2 separate regions of the Homo sapiens genome follow, and region 1 is linked to region 2. The links are contacts of gene promoters, found by promoter capture Hi-C in human tissues and cell types (Jung and others, 2019). All regions are on one chromosome and are shown on one strand. The core of a region is centred on a gene start or on the middle of the fragment in contact, and the rest is flanking DNA. Distances in the headings are between cores, read along the strand shown.

The links. The method cuts DNA at HindIII sites, captures the fragments that hold promoters and counts their contacts. A contact is called where the count stands out against the background at its distance.
Region 1: a fragment that was not itself captured here is called in contact with the fragment with the promoter of PKNOX1 in region 2 in 1 of the 25 tissues and cell types used here (spleen).

Annotation. Positions count from the first base shown.
Region 1 is chr21:44,050,346-44,055,966 of GRCh38, reverse strand. TRAPPC10 (trafficking protein particle complex subunit 10) reads right to left here. Exons shown (of 23, transcript NM_003274.5): 4 at 3,491-3,687; 5 at 74-269. Among named protein-coding and RNA genes, the nearest start is that of TRAPPC10, 41 kb to the right of the region's middle. The HindIII fragment of the contact is 8,976 bases long and covers 1-5,621 here.
Region 2 is chr21:42,972,588-42,979,423 of GRCh38, reverse strand. PKNOX1 (PBX/knotted 1 homeobox 1) reads right to left here and starts at 4,862. Exons shown (of 11, transcript NM_004571.5): 1 at 4,760-4,862. RefSeq lists an enhancer at 3,337-4,063 and silencers at 4,025-4,224, 4,365-4,684, 4,815-5,204, 5,515-5,674. The HindIII fragment of the contact is 23,812 bases long and covers 1-6,836 here.

The DNA of each region.
Region 1 (5,621 bases), core at 3,122-5,621, 1.1 Mb before region 2:
AAGGAGGAGAGAGGGAGGGAACAAAGGAGGGAAGGAGAGAAGGAACTGTCTAGTTCTGTAATGAGTCAAGTACCTGAACCATGAAATATTCACAAAAGCTCCAGCCTGGCTCAGTCCTCTTCTCCCTCAAGGTTCTCATGTCATCCTCAAACTTGCCTAGGTTTTTGGTAAAAGACATAAGAAGCAATGTCCTGAGTTTGGTCAGGAAGGCATTCCAGGATTCCTGAGTTCGAGAAGAGTCCTTCAAGGGGTCGGAGAGCACAACACACCTGCAAAGACATGAACAGACTATCTGGGAAAGACCCTCCATGCACAGCACCACGACTCAGCAGCTGCCATTGTCCTGAGCGGCAATTTTCTTCCTTCCTCCTCCTTTTTTTTTTTTTTTTGAGACAGAGTTTTGCTCTGTGGCCCAGGCTGGAGTGCAGTGGCACAATCTTGGCTCACTGCAACCTCCACCTCCCAGGCTCCAGTGATCCTCCCCAGTAGCTGGGATCACAGGCACGCACCACCATGCCTGGTTAATTTTTGTATTTTTTTGTAAAGGTGAGGTCTTGCTATGTTGCCCAGGCTGGTCTCGAACTCCTGGGCTCAAACAATCCTCCTGCCTCGGCCTCTCAAAGTGCTGGGATTATAGGCATAAGCCACCGCATCTAGCTTCTTCCGTCTATAAACAGTCAAAAACATGAGGCAGGCGGTAAGAAACCAGGTTAGGAAAAGGCTTCATCATGAACTGGTCATGAACACGAGCAGTAAGTTCTACAGAAATTCAAAGGAGAGTTTGCTATAGAATCAACTGGAAAGGGGGAAAGGGATTTACATGAGCCCTGAGCCAAAGACGCAGCTCTGAGTCCTCTGTAAAATAATGTGATCACGCCTCACTCAGTTCCCTGCCTCCTTCAAAATCCATTTTGGTTCCTTGGGATCGACAGGATAAATTTAGATTTCTCAGCACAGCACAAAAGGACCACGATGTCTCACTTTACTTCCTCTGCTTCCCAGCTCAAGCCTGCTGACCTTCTCCCGCTCTCCTCTCTTCATGAGAACATTCCTTCCACCCAGGCGTGGCATCTTCACAAACCTCCCCCAATCACCATCCCAACTGCTCTGCCCACACTGCTGCTAGGCTGTGGGCCTCACAGGAAAACACTCCCCTTCTCTGGACCTCTATCCCTCCCACTAGCCTGTGAGCTCTTGAAGGGGAAGGTTAATAAACAATTAACAAATAAAGGCTTAGAACATGGCTTAACATATAGAGCAAACAGTTTAATTACAAAGAGGCTGAACCCATGATGTAAAAAGGTCAAACACACGAAATTACACAAAGTTCCCAACAGATTTGGACAAGGCAACGTATTTATCTGATAGGCTGGAAATGGTAAATTTCTTTAGCCTTGGTAATAGTAATCTAGAAAGATGATTAATAAATCTGAACTCAGAAATAATTTTAAAACATTGATTCTATGAGCTTCACCAGTTCTCCTTAGTAAATATTTTACTTGAATTACCAAAAAGTAGCAAAATGAACTGACTCTAAGTTCCTTTTTTCCGTGCCCCAGCATATCCTTTGGAGGCATGGCTAAATTCATGGAATTATAAATCAGTGGACAAAACAGTGAAGCAGCATACACTCTACATGTTCCACCATGTGAACAACCAGAACCAAGAAGAAAACTTATAACTTGGTGGCTGGCTTTAATTCCATTCAATCCACCCCACTGCACACTTTCTTCCCTCAAAGACAAAGGGACCAGAGCCGCTCACTCCAAAGGTCCCCCAGAGGACTAACTTGTATTTATCCACAGTAGGAGCTTGCTAGAACCTATGAGTTAGGTAGTTTATCCTTAAGGCATTCTCAAGGATTATAATTACCAACATTTATTCCCGACCAGACGCGAATTCTCCTGTGCGCCTACAGGGGTGAATGGAAATGGAAACTTAACAAGTGCCAACCACCAAAACAGTAACTGTTTTCAGAGGTCAATCAGATACACAGTCATGAAATGTCCTATCTCTATTAGATCCTGTTTCTATATCATCATCAATTTTTTTTAAGTAAAAAAGAACTACACTTCAGAAGTTCACATCAAGCCTAAATCATTAACTCAGAAAAGGAGAGCCCAAAACAACGAATGAAGTCAGGGATGGTGGGCCAATCTGGAGAGCGGCGTGATCCCCCCAGGCGCGCAGACTGCAGGGGCTGGAGGCACATGTGGAACAAGGGGCTCCCGGCTGCAGCCTCAGCGAGACACCACAACGGCTACTGCTGTCACAAGTCACACTGCTGATCACAAGTCAACCCTTGCCTCTACCAGCCTCGTAACTAGCAAAAGCCCAAAAAATGCACAAAATCTGTTACCAAGCAATTTTCCTTTAGGGAAGGTATCCTGAAATAATTAAGGATGCTCACAACATTTGAGCTAGAAAAGTATTCTAATATTGTTGTTTATAACGATAAGTAAGCAATAACCTAAGCCCAGCAGCAGAATGTATAAATAACTTACGGCACATTAATACTATGGAATATTATCCACTCACTAACACTGAGAGTCTGGAAATGCATTTATTGTTTGTGGAAAATCTTTACAATATATTGAGTGAAAAAAACAAGTATAAACAACACATAACGTTATATTAACTTAAAATACACACACGTATTATGTATGCATAAAGAAAAAAAGTCTCAGAACATACATACCAAAATACTAAGAGTTAATATCCATTTTCTTTTTGCTCATTACCTTTTTCTAATAATTCTACAATGAGCATGTACCTCCATCTGAACCCTCGCCACCATAAGCATGGTGACCATGGCTATAATGACCTGCTGGACCAGGGCAGGGTCCATGTTCGCCCCTGAATCCCCAGGCCTTGGGTGAGTTCCAGTGCTAAGCTACGAGATACAGACCATCGGTTATAGAGGAGTTAACGTGCTGGCTGGCTCAGCTGGCAATGGCATCACTGAAGAGAAAGGGAGTGAGCTACCCCAGGAGAGAGAGCAGGGCAAGGCGGAGAAAGCCCATACAATCTATTAACTGCCAAAGTTTCAGGATTCCCTTTCACAGTTTCTGAAGGGGTTAGGTCAGCATTTTATAACTTGTGTTCTTAGGAACTCTCAGGTGTTAAGGTAAAGAAAAAAACACAGGTGCCGTCATTTCAAAAAAAAAACAAAAACCTTTAAGGACCCGTTCTACAGAAGAACTGCAGGAGCTGCTGCTGTCAGTCTTCAGAAAGGACCCACCAAGAGGCCTCCCAGGACTATGGGCCCAAGACCCGCTCCTCCCAGGCAGCACACTCGGGGGATGACTGCTTCGAGTTCTTTGCCTGCCTAAACAGGAACTCCACAAGGACAGGCACCAGGTCTCCTTGACAGCACCCCATGGACACTCACTCGAGATTGCTGAGTAAATATTTATTACTACCCAGGAAGCCAGCAATCTGTATCATGTCAAGTATTAACCAAATGAGGTAAAATTAAAGATACACTTACCTGTCACTCTGTTTATTACAAAAATCATTTCTTATTTTGTCCACAATAGAGGTTCGGGGAAGGATGTTGGTTTTGTTTTTTTTCTTGGCATCATTTTCAACTATCACTATTAACCAGTCCACAGAGCTATGAGCCTTCAGAACATTCTGCCACTTGGTGAGGTCATCTTTTACTGTAGCTTTATACACTTCGGTATCCTAAAAACAAACAAGTCACTGTGAAAGCAGGTTAACTAATGCCCTTTAGTTTATACAGCAAAATGTGCCTAATAACAGCCTGCAAAGGCCGCAATGTTTTAAAGCATCAGGACAGGCTCGGGACTTAAATTGAATAAAAAGCCCAGCGGCCTAGCAAGCCTGCGGGCGTGCTCTGTGGGTCTCAGTGCCGCACACAGGCATGCATGATCCCCAGTTCTCACAACCCCAAGGGATGTGAGCGTCCCAGTGATCCAGATAAAGAGACTGAGAGTCAGAGGGTTGAGTGAGCTGCCCACAGCAATACTGTCTGTTAGGCAAGTCAGGGCTTTAAAACCCAGGCCCACTATGGCCAACAGCTCTGGGCCCAAGCACTACATGACTGCCATCCTGCTGTGTGCCGTGCCTTCATCTCAGGAGGCAAGCTGGCTGTCATGGCACAGCCCAGACTGCCCACAGGAACCCCAGGCAAGCTTCCCGGCAGCTTCTACCACAGCCTCTGAGCTCTGTACCCCTGGGAACCACCCCAACCGCAAGTCTGCGAAGGCCGTGTCAGAGGCAAGCAGCTACAGCTGTGAGACCTCAGAAAGAAGGCGACCTGCAGCTTCCGCAAGGCTGCTCTACTTCCCGACAGGCAGCAGGGAGCCGTGCCATCCCAGAAATCAATCCTGCTTCTCACGCAGAGGCCCAAGCATGAGCCTGCCAGAGAAAGGGCCCTTTCTACATACATGCCAAGGCCTTCAGCTTGGTTCTCTTCCATAAAGAACCAGGAAAACAGACACTTTGCCTGTTATCACTTATAACTGCGCTTCTATTCCATAAATCCACTCAGAAGAGTCCAACTCCCTTTAGATTTAGAAAATCTAAAACCAAGATACTTAATTCATTTCCAAGTTAGGCACTGACAATATCTGGACACAGTAACTCACAGCTACCATCTAAATCAGTGCTTTCTCCTCTTTTGCTAGTTCCTCACTGTCCTGCCCTAATTCCTCCGGACTTTCAAGTCACTCTTGAGTAACACTCAGGCAGAGAGAAGCCAATCAGAGTATCCACGAGTGAGTTAAATCTTAAATCCTGGCCAGGCACAGTGGCTCACACCTGTAATCCTAGCACTTTGGGAGGCTAAGGTGGGTGGATTGCCTGAGCTCAGGAGTTCAAGACCAGCTTGGGCAACATGGTGAAACCCCATCTCTACTAAAAATGGAAAGATTAGCCGGGCATGGCGGTGTGCACCTGTAGTCCCAGCTACTCAGGAGGCTGAGGCAGGGGAATTGCTTGAACTGGGAGGCGGAGGTTGTAGTGAGTCAAGATCGCACCACTGCACTCCAGCCTGGGCGACAGAGCGAGACTGCGTCTCCAAAAAAAAAATATTAAATCCTAAATTCTGTACCCAGCCTCTCTTTTGGTTTAACTAACTAAATAGAAAGTTCCAAAAGGCAGTACTTCTCATTTGTATCCTGATTTTAAAAACTGCTATGTCCTGATTTAAATTACAAATATCATACAATCTGAAAAGATCTTTTACTTTGAAAACTGAGATTAAAACCAACTGGTAAACTCAATTTCCTGCAAATAAATACCCAACAGTAACTTAATTATCTAGTGCACATTTTCCACAGCACGGCAGTTCTTGGGACTTGAAGCATAGATTTTACAGCACTGGTGAACCATTCTGTGCTGGAAGCCCCAACACGCCATGCCTGGAAGCAAAACCAAAAGGCCAACAGGGCCCAGAGCCTGTGACTGCCAAGAAAATACACATAGCACCCGGCTGACCCCATCCACACGTCACAGGTGAGCCATCCAAGGAGCTGCTGGAAGCCTCTCCACCTCTTACAAGGCCACCAAGAGCCCTTTAGCTGGACTCCTCCCCACCCCCACCCCAGAAGGAGTCCTGGCTCCAAGTTGTCCACACCGGGCAGGGGCTGCCACAT
Region 2 (6,836 bases), core at 3,613-6,112:
TATTGCACTCAGCAGGTACTATGTTTTTCACAAGTTGAAGATCTGTGGCAACCCTGTATGAAGAAAGCAAGCCTATTGGTGCCAATTTTCCAAAAACAGGAGCTCACTTTGTGTCTGTGTTACATTTTGGTAATTCTTCACTATTTCAAACTTTGTCATTATTATGTCTGTTACGGGGATCTGTGATCAGTGATCTTTGATGTTCAGGTCAGGAACAGTGATTCATATGGGTAATCCCAACACTTCGGAAGGACGAGGCAGGAAGGCGGCTTGAAAGGATTCACCATTCTGGAAAGGAACTTAAGAGACAGCCGAGGCAACATAATGAGACCTCACTTCTACAAAACTTTTTCAAAATTAGCTGGGCATGCTGGCACATCCCTGTAGTCCCAGTTACTCAGGGGGCTGAGGTGGGAGAACCACTTTAGCCCAAGAGGTCAAGAGTGCAGTGAGCTATGATCTCACCACTGCATCCCAACCTGAGCAACAGAATGAGACCCTGTCTCTCAAAAACATAGCCAAGGCCAGGAACAGTGGATCATGCCTGAGGCTGAGGCAGGAGGACCACTTGAGGCCAGGAGTTTGAGACCTGCCTGGATAACATAGGGAGACTTCATCTCTTTAAAAAAAAACAAAAAAGGGCTGGGTGCGGTGGCTCATGCCTGTAATCCCAGTACTCTGGGAGGCCAAGGTGGGTGGATTATTTGAGGTCAGGAGTTCAAGACCAGCCTGGCCAATACGGCGAAACCCTGTCTCTACTAAAAATACAAAAATTAGCCGGGCGTGGTGGCTCACGTCTGTAGTCCCAACTACTTGGTAGGCTGAGGCAAGAGAATCACTTGAACCCGGGAGGCAGAGGTTGCAGTGAGCCAAGATCGCGCCACTGCACTCTAGCCTGGGCGACAGAGCGACTCCATCTCAAAAAAAAAAAAAAAAAGAAAAGAAAAGAAAAAAACAAGTTAGCCAAGTTGTAAATGCAAAGCAGAAGTTTCTTTCCAATTTTTGAAATTAAAAAAATACATACACAAATTTTTGAAATTTTAAATCACCTCTCAGAACAAAGGAAAACTTAAAGGCAATTAAAAAGTGCTACTCCAGTGAACACATGAATAAGAAAATGGCCAGGTCCGTTGGCTCACACCTGTAATCCCAACACTTTGGGAGGCCAAGGCGGGCGGATCACTTGAGGTCAGGAGTTCGAGACCAGCCTGGTCAACATGGTGAAACCTTACCTCTACTAATAATACAAAAATTAGCTGGACACATGCTGCACACCTGTTATCCCAGCTACTCGGGAGGTTGAGGCAAGAGAATTGCTTGCACCCAGGAGGCAGAGGTTGCAGTGAGCCATGATCATACCACTGCACTCCAACCTGGGCAATAGTCTCAAAAAAAGAGGGAGGGAGGGAAAGAAAGTGAAACAGCCTTATTGGTGATATGTGGAAAGTATGAGTGGTCTGATTAGATCAAACCAGCCACAACATTCCCTTAAACTGAAGCCTAATCGAGAACCAGGCCCAAGTTTTCTTCAATTCTATGAAGGCTGAGAGAGGTGAGGAAGATGCAGAAGAAAAGTTGGAGCCAGGCACGGCAGCTCACCCCTGTAATCCCAGCACTTTGAGAGGCTGAGGCAGGTGGATCACCTGAGGTCAGAAGTCCCAGCCTAGCTAACATTTAGTAGAGCCCGTCTCTACTAAAAATACAAAAAATTAGCTGTATGTGGTGGCAGCTGCCTGTACTCCCAGCTACTACGGAGGCTGAGGCAGGAGAATCGCTTGAACCCGGGAGGTGGAGGTTGCAGTGAGCCGAGATCACGCCATTGCTCTCCAGCTTGGGCAACAAGAGTGAAAATCCATCTCAAAAAAAAAAAAAAAAAAAAAAAAAAAGTTGGAAGCAGCAGAGGCTGGTTCATGAGGTTTAAGGAAAGAAGCTGTCCCCATAACACGAAAGTACAAGGTGAAGCAGCAAGTGCTACCTAACAGAAAAGCAACACCAGGTTATCCAGGTCTAGCTAAGATCATTGATGAAGGCAGCGAGACGAAAAAGCAGATTTTCAATATAGACAAAAGACTTCCTTTGGAAGGAGATGACATCTAGGACTTTCATACCTAGAGAGAACTCAGTGCTTAGTTTCAAAGGGCAAGCTGGCTCTCTTGTTAGGGGCAAATGTCACTGGTGACTTTAAGCTGAAGCCAGTGGTCTTTGACCATTCTGAAAATCCTAGGGTTCTGAAGAATTATGTTACGTCTACTCTTGCCTGTGCTCTGGAAATGGAATAACACATTACTGAATATTTTAAACCCACTGTTGAGATCCACTGCTCAGAAAAAGATTTCTTTCAAAATATTACCGTTCACTGACAATGTACCTAGTCACCCAAGGGCTCTGATGGAGATGTACACAAGGAGATGAATGCTGTCTTCATGTCTGCTAACACCACATCCATTCTGCAGCTATGGATCCAAGGAGTAATCTTGACTTTCAAGTCTTAATTATTTAAGAAATACATTTTGTAAGGCTATAGCTGTGGTAGTGATTCCTCGCATGAATCTGGGCAAAGTAAACTGAAAACCTTCTGGAAAGAATCTGCCATTCTAGATGCCATTCATGATTCATGGAAGGAAGTCAAATAACATTAACAGGAGTTTGGAAGAAGTTGATTCTAACCCTTATGATGACTTGGAGGAGTTCAAGACTTCAGTGGAGGAAGGAACTGCAGATGTGGTGGAAATAATGAACAGTTGCTTCTTACGGATGAGCAAAGAAAGTGGTTTCTTGAAATGGAATTTATTCCTAGTGAAGACGCTGTGCACATTGTGGAAATGACAACAAAACATTTGGAATATCACATCAACTTAGTGGATAGCAGTGGCAGAGTTTGAGAATAGCCTCCAACTTTGAAAGAATTTTCACTGTGGTTAAAATGCTATCAAAACAGCATCACATGCTACAAAGAAGTCTTTCATGAAAGGAGGAGTCCATCAATGCAGTAAATTTCACTGTTGTCTTATTTTAAGTAACTGACACAGCCACCACCACCCTGATCAGTCAGCAGCCATCCACACTGAGGCCAGATTGTCAAAGTATAAAACAAGCAGGACTCACTAAAGGCTCAGATGATCATTAGTATTTTTAGCACTAAAATATTTTTTAATTAACGTAAGCACATTTTTATAGATATAATGCTTGCTATTGCACACTTTAAGTAGTATACTGTAATTACAACTTTCATATGCACTGAAAAACCTAAAACTGTTGCGTCACTTGCTTTACTGCAATACTTATTTTACTGCGGTGGTCTGGATTAGAACTCGAATTATCTGAGGTACGCCTGTGTACAAGGACAGGATTCACAAATCACTCTAAGTAAATTAAGCAGAGTGATGAAAGGCTCATTGGGGTCAGCCTGCCATCTTCCAAATTATGACTAAATGCAAGAGCATCACCAATAACTATACTGGCAGAGGTTCACATTTCACCTCGATTCTTCCTTATGTTTAGAGAAAGCCTATTTTTCAGTATGCCAGGAAAAATCATGAAAGTAGACCTAACTAAAGCTGGGGGTTTCTTTCATCCTGAAGAGGAACCACTTCCTAAGGAAAAATCATCTACTGTTTTAAAAAGCAAACTCTCGTAGAGTTGGAAGAGAACCCCACACACAGGTGGAACACCCCCCAGGGCTGCGGCCCCGCCGTGGCGCTCAGCCTGGCCTGCCCTGGGCCCGACCTCAGGACGCCGCCATTCCCGGACCCTCGGGCCTCCCGTCAGGAATCCGCCATCGGAACGGAGGCCCTAACTGGTCCCGTCGCAGAGCCACTGTCCAAATAAGGCATTTCGAGAGCCACGAGGATGACATAAAGCAGACTCCGCGTTTCTTCATTTTTCGTTAAGTGACACGATTTCCCTCACAAGGAAGGTGCAAACCCACAGGGCGCCCAGACCCTGCCCGGCACTTCCTGTCATCCATTACCACGACCCGTGTGACAGAAGCGGCTCTTCCCACCAATTCCCGGGACGCCGGAACCGCTTCCCCAGCACCCGGCCCCAAACACTGCCGTCAGCGAGCGGCCCTGGGCTGCTCCCGCGCCGGCGCCCGGCTGAGGGCCACGAGCCCCATCACGCCCACCGCCCCCAGGACCCCGACCCACCCGCTCGCCACGGCCGAGGCCGGGGCCGGGGTCGCGGCCGCCATCTTCCCGCCTGCGCCGCCGCGCGCCCCGCACCCTCCGAGCAGCCCCGCCGGCCCTGAGGACTCCGCGAGGCCGCGGACCCGACCGGCCCCACGCGCGCCGCCCGCCCCGGCCCCGCCCCGCCGCGCGCCCCCGACCCTCACGCCCGCCGCCCCGCCCGCGCCGGGCTCCGCGCGCCCCCGCCCCGCGCCGGGGCGCGCGCCGCACTCCGAAAGGGACGGTTAGGAGCGCGCGCTTCGATCAGGCCCAGCGCGGCGGCGGCGGCGCCTTCCAGAAATTTCCGCGTCCCTCAACCCACACTAAGAAACCAACTGGGCGCGCCCCCGCGCCGGTTGGGCTGAAGGCGCCCCCTCCCCCGCGGGTGCCCGCTCCCCTCCCCCACCCGCGCCCCCTCCCCGCCCCCTGCCCCGGGCGGCGGGTCAAATGCGGGCCCTCGAGGGCAGCGCCGGCCCTCCAGACCCGGGCGGCAGCGGCGGCGGCGGGCGGCGGCCGCGGGCCGGTGTGATTGATAGGGACGGCGGCGGCGAGAGCGGCGGCGGCGGCGGCGGAGCGGTTGAGTGACAGCTTACCTGGGTGCCAATCTTCATCACACTGACAAGCGGCTGCAGCAATCGGGACCCGCAGTGCCGCGCCCGCGTCCAACCGTCACGCCGACGCTGGGCCACGCGACACAGCCTCGCTCAATGGGAGGAGGGCGACGCCGACGCGCGCCGCATCAATATTCAGAGAGGGGGCGGGGCCTGCCGGAGACGGGCCCCGCCCCTCCCTGCGCGGCGGCGGGCGCGGGGCGGGGCCTGATCGCTGGGGGAGGAGAGCGAGGGCGGGAACCGGGCGGTGGCCGGCCCCGCCTCCAGCCCCGCCCGCACCCGGAGCTAGGCCGTGCCCCCAACCGGCCGCGCCCGAGCGCGAGGAGCTGTCTGCCCCGCCCCGAAGGCAGAGCCTCCCGCCTTATGACTATGCAGTAGGGGCGTGGCCTCAGCGCACGTCTTGCCCCCTCCGCGCCCTCGGTTGCCGCCCAGGAGAGGTGTGTGTAGCCGGGCGAAACCATTTGCCTCGAGCAGGCGGGGAGGGAGGGCTGTACCATCCGTAACCCCACCGCCGGGCGTCCCGTAGCCGAAGGCCTCCGTTCTGTGTGTGCCCGGTTTGAATGTAAGCCCGTGGGAGCCTCGCAGCCTTCCTCCCCAGGCTCTGGAGCCCGGGTGGGCCCGTCCTGGGCGGCACAGTGGATGCTCACGTGCCTCCCCCCCTGCGGCAGCGCGAGTGCTTAGCACCTGAGGCTTTACCCTGGGGGCTGTCTTCCCTCTGTGAGGACCCCAGCAAGGACTCATGATGTCCACAGGTGCTTAGGGGTGGCCTCTGGGCTACTTGGCCTCGCTTGACCACACCTTCCGGCCCAGGTGAGCCTTGCGGGTCTAGGTGACCAATGCGGCCTCCAGGTAAAGGGCACCTGCCTTAGGGGACGCCCACAAGTGTCTGCATTTCAAACTGCTTTGAAAGACCACCCTAACCGACCACTGCCACAATGTACCCACAAGTGCAGATGGTGGCTTTGGTCTCCAAGATGTAAGGAAAGGGCGACACATTCCCCACTGCGTAGGAAAGCACACGGTTTGCCTGACTGGCCTTCAATACTGCAGAAACATCCATTTATGCAGTGGCCCACCGAAGGCCATCAGTGCCTTGAGTCCATACACAGCGCGGGAAGGGCAGCTCTGTGGGCCCCCACTCCTCCCGGAAGGCAGACAGGCCCAGGACTGGAGCTGATTGCTAGAGGGAGCCTGGGGGTAGGTCTAGGCATGAACAGCTCGGAGGACATCCCTCCTGTGTCTTCAGAGCTCCACACCGCCAGGAGGTCTTGGCCAAGTGCTGTGCAGCTGCAGAGCCGCCTCTTTCAGAAAGATGGGAAGCAGCAGGGTGGGCAAGAGGGAGGCCCTGAGATACTTGCCCAAGGAGGGAAGTTCAAGGGGACAAAAAAAGCTCAGTATTCAAGACTGAGCATAATCTGCAGAGCCTAGTGCAAGATCCAGATGCAAGTGTCAATAGGTGTTGGAACAGAGAGACTCCACATGGGCTGGGTAAACTGAAGCTGAGACCTGCTGGGCCGCACCCCCCAGGAGTTAAGGCGTTCTTAGTAATCGGATGAGATAGGAGGTCGGAACAAGACACAGGTCACAAGGATCCTGCTGATAAAACAGGATGCAGTAAAGAAGCCGGCCAAATCCCACCAAAACCAAGATGGCGGGGAAAGTGACCTGTGGCCTTCCTCACTGCTGATTATACACTAATTATAATATATGAGCTTGGTAAAACACACTCTCGCCAGCGCCATGACAGTTTTCAAATGCCATGGCAACGTTTGGAAGATACCCTACATTGCCTAAAAGGGGTCGGGCGCAGTGGCTCACGCCAGTAATCCCAGCACTTTGGGGAGGCCAAGGCGGGCAGATTACTTGAGGTCAGGAGTTGAGACCAGCATGGCCAATATGGTGAAACCCCATCTCTACTAAAAATACCAAAAAATTAAGCAGGCGTGGTGGCATACACCTGTAGTCCCAGCTACTTGGGAGGCTGAGGCAGGAGAATCGCTTGAACCTGGGAAGCAAAGGTTGCAGTGAGCCGAGATCACGCCATTGCACTCCAGCCTGG